Linked DNA regions of Homo sapiens: region 1 is linked to region 2. Evidence: promoter capture Hi-C in 16 types of primary human blood cells and fetal thymus (Javierre and others, 2016). All regions are on one chromosome and are shown on one strand. The core of a region is centred on a gene start or on the middle of the fragment in contact, and the rest is flanking DNA. Distances in the headings are between cores, read along the strand shown.

Region 1 (5,421 bases), core at 431-2,930, 3.7 Mb after region 2:
ATTTTCCATTATCTATGTACTCTCAGGAAATATTTATCAATATCAACCTAAATTAATATGCCAGGAGAGTAATAACAGTCCTTCCATGCCTTCAGCTGCAATTCATTTTTAAAGGTTTGAGATATTGCAGGGTCTGAAATTTTCTTAAGGTATGAGTTAAGGTCTTTCTGTGAGGTTATTGAAATAGTCAGGATAGCCTTCACTATGATGTCTTACAGAGTTTGAGACTCAAAAGGGTAAACTGAAGAATTGTCATTAGTAGAGGTCCCATTTTCTTAATATAGGTCTTCATTCTCCCCTTTCTTATGAAGTGGTAACTGGATTATGAAGACATCCCTCTGCAGTTTAGCCTTATTCCACACATTCTAGAATGTGGTAGATAGCTGGAACTATTGAAAAACCAAACTGAATTATCATAGCTCTACTCATTATGGTATCCTATGTCTTGTTTTCATATGGAAAATTGGGTATTTAGCAGTGAGACCTATTATCTGTGGTTATCTGTGAGATTCCTTTTTATACTTAGCTTTTTATTAAACCATAGTAGTGTTATTGGGAAAACATGGACAAAAGGATGAGATTACAGGCTACAGTAGTATTTTTTCTATCTAGTTGTCACTTCACTTGATAATAGCAAGAGGCAGAGGAAATCTAAATCCCTACAGTAAGCACTTTAAAGAGAATCATAGTTATTGAATTTTTCTTTATCTAGTCTTCATTTGTTTTTGGCAAGTTGGTCTTTTAAGATAGGAGCATAATTCATGGAAAATATTGACTCAGAGTGGAATATGCATATCATAGGAGATCATCAACTTCTTCAAACAATCTGATCATATTATAATCAGAATTATAAACAATCAAACAAAAAAGAACATTTTAATATGCAATGTAAATGACTTTTTATGTTTCTTAGGTAATAGTAATTTATAATGCTCTAATAAAACTTAAGTCTGACTGTCAACATGTTTAAGACATGGAGAAGCTTTTCCTGGAAGTTATTAATTATCACCAGGTATTCTCTCAGCCCAACACAGTTAATTATTCAGAAAAATTCAAGTTAAAAGGTTTACTGACTTTTACAGGGGGTTAAGATATGAAACTTAATTTATGTCTCATGTTCATATCTTTTGTATGTTGTATATTAACCTTTTAATATTTTGTCATAGCATTTTTATTAATGAAAATAGTAATAAAATTTTGTAGCATATGTGTACACATAACTATGCATATTCATATTTTTTACTTTACAATTCCAATATATTACATCTTCCTAAGTGATCGTATTTTAGGTGTCAATTTTATACAAACCTATTTTATGTCTGAAGAATTTATTAGCCCTACATCCCTGATTCTATTGACAAGGAAGATATTCCTATGTTACATTCTAAGACATACTGGGCTACATGCCATTAATTTCTGTGACAATAGTTTGAAATTCTGCAATCCCTTTAACACAGTACTTCTGCAAAATAACCTCTAAAATAATTAAATTAGACTCTAAATGCATTAAAAATGTAAATATGAAGTTTAGAATTATTTTTTCCCTAATAAGATTAGAATTCAAACACAAGCATATTTCAAGGACAATGTAAAATGACAATGAAAATATACAATTTCAACACAAAGTCAAACATTCAAGACAACTAAGGTGTAGGAATAAAGTGCCAAACTTCCAGACCCAAAAAGCACTCTGAATTTTTATATGGATATTCATATCTTTAATAAAAATATTTACCTTCCGTTTATTGTATAAAGTATGTCTTTGTTCTTACAACTGCCTTAAATATTTCTCTTTGGGTTAAATTTACCATCAATTAAACTCTGGTTGATTACTATACATTTTCAGTAAGCTAGAAGAGAACGTGATCATAGCATTTCAAGAATCAAAGTTTAATAAGAATACAGATGCATATTCTTCTCTTTGTAAGGCCTCACATTACCTAAGTGAAAATGCAGTTTGACATGCATTAAAATTTGGATCCTACAAGGCAGAAATATATTTCATATATTAATTTGTATGAGTATCTGCAATCCTTTGTTGATAATCTAATTACTCCTCACCTTTGTCCACAACAGAGTTAGAACTGAAAGGGATATAACTACACAAATCCTGACACTCCAAGTGTTAATTATTATACATTTGTCTTGTATAGAACAGACAAAAATGTATTTAAACAGCTCTTCTTTTTAAAGGAAGGCAATATGTATAATACTTTTATATATGCCCTGTTTTATTTTAATAATCTTGGCTGGATTAACATTCTAGTAAAATTTGCAGTGAAGTGGTAGAACCTGCTGTTAAGCAATGATAACAAAGAATACATCAATAGAGCCCACTAAATTATTGCTCTTATTTATAAACATTTAAGCAACTGAGCAAAAGCTTTCTAACACCGCACCTGAATAGTATTGGCTATGCTCCTTTCTCTGCTTTGTCTACTGCTGAGGAGCTATGAATACATCTTGTAACTCTTCCCCTCCCTCCCTCGCTTCCTTCCTTCCTACTTTCTTCCCCCTAGTTTCTCCTTGGAGACATGCTCATATTACTCATTTTCCTCTGCCTTCTTTGTTTAGTCAGCTTGTATCTTGCTTATTTAGACACCATGTATATTGCCAATAATCAAATTTAAGAAAAGTAAAAGAAGTCATTTCTCATACTGTCACATTTCTTACCACCTCTCTTACACTCCAAACTCCATTTCTTTTCATCATTTCTCTGGGTTACATACACAGGACTTTCAACTTTTGCAAGAATCCATAGGCCACACATATTTAAAACTCTGTCCATTCATTTATTCAACAAATATTTATTTAGTGTTTATTGTTGCCCAGGCTCTGTGTTGAAAATAATGGGAAGAAAGGTAGTAATGTGGCTATTTTAGTAACAGGAAAAGATTCACGAAACTCAGAAGTTTGATCGGAATGTATTGCCCTTACCTGTGCAAAATATGGTCCTAGACACTGGGCTACGAAAGACTGAAGACAATCTGTGCTCTCAAGTGCTTACAACATAATTGAAAAGCCAGAATTCTTGGCACCAATAGGCAAAATGACTGAAGGACACTTAGGGTAAAATATTCCAACATACTCAAATCAGCATAAAGTAAATAGTGTGCAGGAGTATTTGAGAGAATAGTCAAAATTTAGTTTACTGTATCAATAGAGGCCTACTGCATGAAGGGAATTTGAAACTGAATTTTGATACCCATGAAAGATATGTATTTTCAGGAGATAAAAGAATAACCACAGTAATTTGTACAAACATGGGAATAAACAAACTGCATATTCTGAAAGATAAAGTATTTGCTTGGTAAGATATTTGCTGAGAATAATAGTTCTCAAAATGGTGGCTGATGAGCAAGCATATGAGAATTACCTCAGAAGTCTTTCCCCAGCTGATTACACATTATCTTCTCTCTCTCTTCATTTTCTGTTTGCTACATTTCTTTCCATTTTTCTGTGATGTCCCTTGCAGTGGATATAAGGACGGATCTGTGCATGTTGCAGTTAGGAAAGGCAGATTGCAATTTGAAGAAAAGTTCCACAGAACCAATATCTCCATGCTACCTGCTTTGAGTTAGGACACAATGCTTTATGGAAATGCTCACATATATTTTTGAAATGGGATAGGAGTAGTGAAAGGTGTATCTCACAACTGGGTAGCCATGTTGAAATTAACATGAGAAGTGAGTAAGTGTCAAACCCAAGCCTGATTCATTTAACAAATAAAATATTACCAACTACAGTTTTATATACTGTTCAACATTCCACACCACATCTTACCCTATTTTGAAGCTTAAATTTAAGCCTTTATTAAAAACTACATCTGTGCAATAATGCAGTATGTAAACTGTCATTTGTTTCATAAAAATGTTAGTAGATGGTGTCCACATATATATGCATTGTGTGTGTGTGTGTATATATGTATATATCTATATCTATATATATATACACATCCAGAATTCATTTGAGCAATGTTCACTTACGTTATCCACATTTATAAAGAGAGAAGCGTATAAGATCCAAATTAAAATGCAATGTCATTATCATTTATACTGTTAAAATTCAAACCATAAAAATAAAAGGGGGGAGCAATATTACAGGTAACAAAAATACTTTAAACTATGTATATTTGGCTCTGCAATAGTCATTGCTCTGAAACGTTACATAATAAATTATAATAACTTTAATAGATAATTAAGTTTTCTTAAAAATAATAATAATTGGTTGTGTTTCTTAAATACATTCTAGTAATGGGCTAAGGACAGTTATGTTACAATGGCCCAAAAATTAACTAGCAGGCAATGAGGAGTTCTTGTTTGTACACAAGAAACTATTACTATTTAAAAGAGGAAAAAAGACCTCCTCATTTATTTTACACATCTGTACCATGAACTAATCTAAATGTTTTAATATCATTACTTCAGTTCATCCTAGTGATTTTTTGTGTTAATATTTACTTTTAATTATAATTTGTTCAGTTATCATCAAGGTTTGATTTTCAGTGAATTTGTTAACAGATGCTAATTGAAGTGGCTTAGTAAACCAACTGCAAGATTTAAACTCTTCCAAAGATAGGACACTTAAAGGTGAATACAAAAACCTAGTTCAAACTTTCTCCATTAAGCCTTTATCAAACGGTTTTCAGAAAGAGGACATTTTCATTTTACCCCCATATTTCCATTGTCCTTTTTGTTGAAGATTTCCTAAAGAAAAAGTGAAAAATTCATGGGCCTGGTTATTCCACAGACAGATTTCATACTTATACTTGGAGTTAACATTTTTCTCTATCTACTTTTAAAATTGCCAGCTAAAAAAGTAAAACAACAAATGAAGGGTCAGTTAGGAAACAGAGGAACAGATTTCAATTTTGAATTCAAATTTGGTTAAGCAGAGAACGTATAGGGGAAAAAAAAATTGCAATTGGATTTAATACACATGAAAGATTGAATTTAGATAAACCTTAAGGTTTTCTATTTAAAAAAAATTACAGGATCTGTTAATACTTTACATCTTTGATGGGCTTGTTTTTACCATAAAGTTTGTTACCACATACCGAAAAGAAAAGTATTTTAAGATAAATTGTTTTACCAGAATTCTGAAGGAAAAAAAAAAACACCCCTTAGAATTCTTTGTGGCCACATAACATCTGAATAGTCAAAAGTTTACACTGTAAATAAAAGGAGGAACAATATGTGGATTCTAGTAGCTTTAATGAAGGCAATATTTTGGATGCCACAGCAAAGATAAAGAGCATTTCAGAAGAGGAAAGGCAAGGTTTTGAGATTTTCAAGATGAGTTTCATATTTTTAAAACACTTAACTGATTTTGTCAATGTCCACATGTAGTTATAGTTTTACTATAGGTTCTGACATTTTTCATCAGACTTATGAATGATATCATAATCAGGGGATATAAGTT
Region 2 (5,347 bases), core at 2,805-5,304:
AAATACGTGGGCCTGGTTATTTTTGAATGTTTACGGCAAAAAGGATCCTTAGGGATGGGGCCAGGTTTTACTTTTCCTTGTATTCTGGGACCCCACATAGACTTCTTAGATGCTCAAATAAATGTTTGTTGAACAAACGAATATTTTATTGAATGCAATTGTGTGAAGCAATGAAAGTTTAATTATTTTATATCCAGACAGAATATTTCTGTGTTCTAGTTTTTGCTGGGACTGGATTTAGCTGGCTGATGCATTGTATCTGTGTTTGATGTCCTCATTCTTGTGGAATGAAGAGTATATATGTGTGTGTGGGAATCTGCATTTGGGGACAGAAGGGCCTATATTTGGGAAGATGCAATGTGATCAGCTGCTTTTCACATTTTCTTCCATTTCCTCTGTTGTGTTTCATCTCTCATTACTAGACTATAAATTCTCTGAGGACAATGACCATGCCTCATGTTTGTTGTTACCGTATATAATATTTTCGGGCTTGTTAAATATTGGTTGAATGGATGAACATGGTAGCAAAGACAACTCAAAGGAAAGTTAGCATTTTTTATCTTTATATGATTTTGGAAACAAAGCATCCTATCTTTCTCCTTTTTTTATCTGCACTGATTTATATTTGTTTCATCCATAGCTCTGTTCCATGGAGCTACCTTTGGATTTATTGTTCTTTAATCTCATTACCTTTGGATTTATTGTTCTTTAATCTCATCTTTATAAATGCCACATGATTTGTGGAAAAGGGTTTAGACTCTGAAATTAAAGAGAACTTGATCTATAACTTACAGGTTATGTGACCCTGGGGAAGGTACGTAACCTCTTGGTGCTTTTTACCTCATCTGTGAAGGTGAATAATAGTGTCACCTACCTGCTGGAGCTGGCTTTGTTTCCCCTTAAGTTAAGAATCTTTTCCAACTTTTATTTCAGGTTCAGGGGGTATGTGTGCAGGTTTGTTACCTGGGTATGTTGTATGATGCTGAGGTTTGAGGTACAAATGATCCCATCCTCAGGTACTGAGCATAGTACCCTACAGTTAGTTGTTCAAAACTTGCCTCCATCCCTCCCTATGCCCTCTAGTAGTCTTCAGTTTTTATTGTTGTCATCTTTATGTCCATGACTACCCAATGTTTAGCTTCCACTTATGAGAACATGTGGTATTTGGTTGTCTGTTCTTGCATTAACTTGGTTATGATAATGGCCTCTAGCTGCATCTATGTTGCTTCAAAGGACATGATCCCCTTCTTTTTTATGACTGCATAGTATTCCATGGTGTATATGTACCACATTTTCTTCATCCAGTCCACTGTTGATGGGTACCTAGATTGATTTCATGTCTTTGTTATTGCAAAAAATGGTGCAATGAACATGCTAGTGCATGTGTCTTTTTGGGAGAAAAATTTGTTTTCTTTTGGAAAATCCAGTAATAGGATTGCTGGGTCAAATAGTAATTCTGTTTTAAGTTCCTTGAGGAATCTTCAAACTGCTTTCCATAGTAGTTGAATTAATTTACACTCCCATCAACCGTGTACAGGCATTCCCTTTTCTTCTCATCTTCACTGAAATCTGTTAGTTTTTGACTTTTTAATAGTAGTCATTTTGATTAGTGTGAGATGGTATCTCATTGTGGTTTTGATTTGCATTTTTCTTTTGATTAGTGATGCTGAGCATTTTTTCATGTTTGTTGGCAGCTTTCATGTCTTCTTTTGAGAAGTGTCAGCTAATGTCATGTGCCCATTTTTTAATGTGATAATTTGTTTTTTTGCTTGTTGAACTGTTTAAGTTCCTTATAGATTGACTATTAGATATTTTCAGATGACAATTTGAGAATATTTTCTTCCATTTGGTAGGTTGTCTCTTTACTCTGTTGATTGTTTCTTTTGCTGTGCTGAAGCTCCTTGGTTTAATTAGGTCCCACTTGTCAATTTTTCTTTTTGTTGCAATTGCTTTTGAGGGCTTAGTCATAATTTTTTTGGCCAAGGCTGATGTCCAGAATGGTATTTTCTAGGCTTTTTTTTTCTTGGATTCTTATAGTTTGAGGTCTTACATTTAAATCTGTAATCCATCTTGAGTTAATTTTTGCATAGAGTGAAAGGTAGGGGTCCAGTTTCATTCTTCTTCATATGGCTAGCCAGCTATCACAGGACAATTTACTGAATAGGGAGTCCTTTCTGCATCGCTTATTTTTGTTGACTTTATCAAAGATCAGATGGTCATAGTTGTGTGGCTTTATTTCTAGATACTCTATCCTGTTCCACTGGTCTATGTGTCTGTTTTTGTACCAGTACCTTGCTGTTTTGGTTATCGTAGCCTTACAGTATAGTTTGAAATCAGGTAATGTGATGCCTTTGGCTTTGTTCTTTTTGCTTAGGATTGCTTTGGCTATTAGGGCTCTTTTTCTGGACCCACATGAATTTTAGAGTAGTTTTTTCTAGTCATATGAAAAGTGACATTGATAGATTGAAAGGAATAGTGTTGCATCTATCAATTGCTTTGGGCAGTATGACCACTTTAACAATATTGATTCTTCTAATCCATGAGCATGGAATGTTTTTTCATTTATTTGTGTCATGTCTGACTTCTTTCAGCAGTGTTTTGTAGTTCTTCTTGTAGTTCTCCAGATCTCTTACTTCCTTCCTTAGATGTACTCTTAGGTATTTTTTTTCGTGGCCATTGTAAATGGAATTACAATCTTGATTTGACTCCCAGCTTGAATGTTATTGGTGTACAGAAATTCTACTCGTTTTTGTACATTGACCTTCTTTCCTGAAACTTTGCTGAAATTATTTATCAGTCCCAGGAGAATTTTGGCAGTCTTTAGGGTTTTCTAGGTATAGAATAATATTTTCTGCAAAGAGAGAGAGTTTGACTTCTTCTTTTCCTATTTGAATGCCATTTATTTCTTTCTCTTGTCTGATTGCTCTGGCTAGCACTTTCAGTACTATGTTGAATAGGAGTGGTGAGAGAGAGCATCATCGTCATGTTCCAGTTCTCAAGGGGGAATGGAGAGCTGTTGTGAGACCTGATTGGATTGATTAATGTACGGCATCTACTCAGAGTAGGGACTGTATAAACAGTAGACCTTTTTAATCTCTTTATTTCCATTCTATTTACTCTCTTACTATTTATCTTAATTATGGCTGCCTTCTCCTATCAGGAAATGTGGATTTATAACCCTGGCTATCTGTTAGCACCCCTTAGACTACTGGGAGTTGATTTGGAATGGAATACTCTGAACTATCAAAATTTCACCTCATTAGAAACCTTACATCATATCACTTTGGACATTGCCAAAGCTCTTTTTAGAATAACCACATTTTGCCCCATTAAAATAATACAAGAATAAACATGAATTTCTAGAAAAACTCCCCAAATTACAAAGCAAAGAGGTGGAGAGTTAAATGCCATGTGAAGAATCTAAGAATGTAGCATATATTCAAATTTATTATTTTTAATTGTCTCTCTCTTCACTTATTAAAATAGATTTTAAAAAATTGCTCTCACAACAGGACCATTATCCTTAGTAGATTTAAGGACTATTTCACCATATTTTTTCTTGAAATAATTGAGTTTGCTGGAATAAACTACTCAGTTCAATATTTTTCATCTCCCTCTAATACAAATGTATTTGATTTCTATAAATCTGAGTGAAATCAGTGAGGAAATTATACACATTTATCTTCCACAGGGTATATGAGCTATTGAGTCATGTTGTATTTATTGTAGATCATGTTTGCTATTTGGCCAGATAGTTTGAATAGTTGGGAACAATATATAATACTAAGAAAATAACCAGAAAGATGAATGGAAGTAAAGTGTTCTTTATAATAAATAAGTACATAAAATATTCTGTAGTGATTCAAGTACACATTTACATGTAAAATATATTGAAAATATATCATTCTATATTATGCATATCATTCATTCTTATGATTCATATACATATATATTTCTTTTATATGAGTATATGTTTATATGACTTAGTCTTTTCATTTGGACCTCACATAATATGTATATATTTTCCTATTATATCTTTCTTCCAGCTTCAAATATGTGGATGTTTTCTTGGCTTTGTGCTATTTTAATTATTTTGGCTATTGCTGGTATGAACACAATAGCAAAGACCACACCACATACCAAATTTACGAAGAAATCTGAGGAAAGAGAGATGCCAAAGGGTCTAAAGCCATCCAGTGGCCCACCTCCAGAAGAAGAAGAAACCCTCTTCACAGAAATGGCTGAAATGGCAGAACCAATTACCAAACCCTCGGCCTTGGATTCTGTCTTTGGCACTGCCACTCTCTCTCCCTTTGAAAACTTCACTCTTGACCCAGCTGATTTCTTTTTGAATTGTTGTGATTGTTGTTCACCTGTACCCGGGCAGAAAGGAGAACCTGGAGAGACTGGACAGCCAGGTATTAGAAAATATAAGAAGTCATGTTTCTCACTTGTACATTGGTAGAGTTGAGAGGTAGGTTGTCGGGTGAAATTGCCCCAGGAGTTTCTACGTTGTTATGCAAATAGTAACAGGTCTAGGTGTCACATTGTTACAAATGTAAATGGGTGCTGTGTTGCCCAATGTGGTAATTAATAAATATTAAAATTAAAATTGAATAAGGTAAAAAATTCAGTTCATCAGTCACATTAGCCACAGTTCAAGTGCTCAACAGCCACTGTATTGGGCAGCACAGATAGCATTTCCATCATTGTAGACAATTCTACTGGACAGTGCTGGTGAGAGCAAAGTCAGGAATTACCAACTCCAGCATGGTGCTCTGGTTCTTCAAGATGCACAGGTTTATTACCAGTACAATTTTTTAAATTAGTGGCTGATTTAAAAAGGGTAAATGAAACTTCTGTTGCCTTGCAAGAATGTGTGCTGACTGATGGATTTTCTGAGTGCTATTTGTAGTTAGGATTAGAAATGGAATGGCTCTGAGGTGGAGAATAAAGCTTAGGATTCCATTTGCTTCTCATTGAATTTCTGAGGCAATACTGTGTCATTGCCCAATGATTTTCTCCATTGAACACCATGGTTATGTATTTCAAGATTTCAGATGTCTATAATATATACATAATGAATATAGTCTTGGCTTTATTCTAATACATTTCAGCTTTTACATGTCATCTAGAAGAGAATTCAAGGTAAAGTTAAGATCAGAATGTCAACTTAAAATTCACCATTGCCTGAGGAATTTAATGTTATAAACTAAGCAATTATACATCTTCACCAAGCTTTTCATTCATTTCATCCCTTTGTAGGGACCTTTTGGGAAATGCGGTTAGTATTTATGCAGAGCTGCATTAAGGAGTAAAGGAGATGGGCCGTAGCTTGGGTACCAAG

Evidence for each region. The method cuts DNA at HindIII sites, captures the fragments that hold promoters and counts their contacts. A CHiCAGO score of 5 or more calls a contact.
Region 1: a contact is called between a fragment that was not itself captured here and the fragment with the promoter of OTOL1 in region 2, in 1 of 17 cell types (endothelial precursors). The highest score is 9.7, in endothelial precursors.

What each region holds. Positions count from the first base shown.
Region 1 is chr3:165,176,203-165,181,623 of GRCh38, forward strand. No RefSeq gene overlaps it. Among named protein-coding and RNA genes, the nearest start is that of SLITRK3, 17 kb to the right of the region's middle. The HindIII fragment of the contact is 1,401 bases long and covers 981-2,381 here.
Region 2 is chr3:161,492,754-161,498,100 of GRCh38, forward strand. OTOL1 (otolin 1) reads left to right here and starts at 4,055. Exons shown (of 4, transcript NM_001080440.1): 1 at 4,055-4,418. The coding sequence starts at 4,055. The HindIII fragment of the contact is 10,143 bases long and covers 1-4,954 here.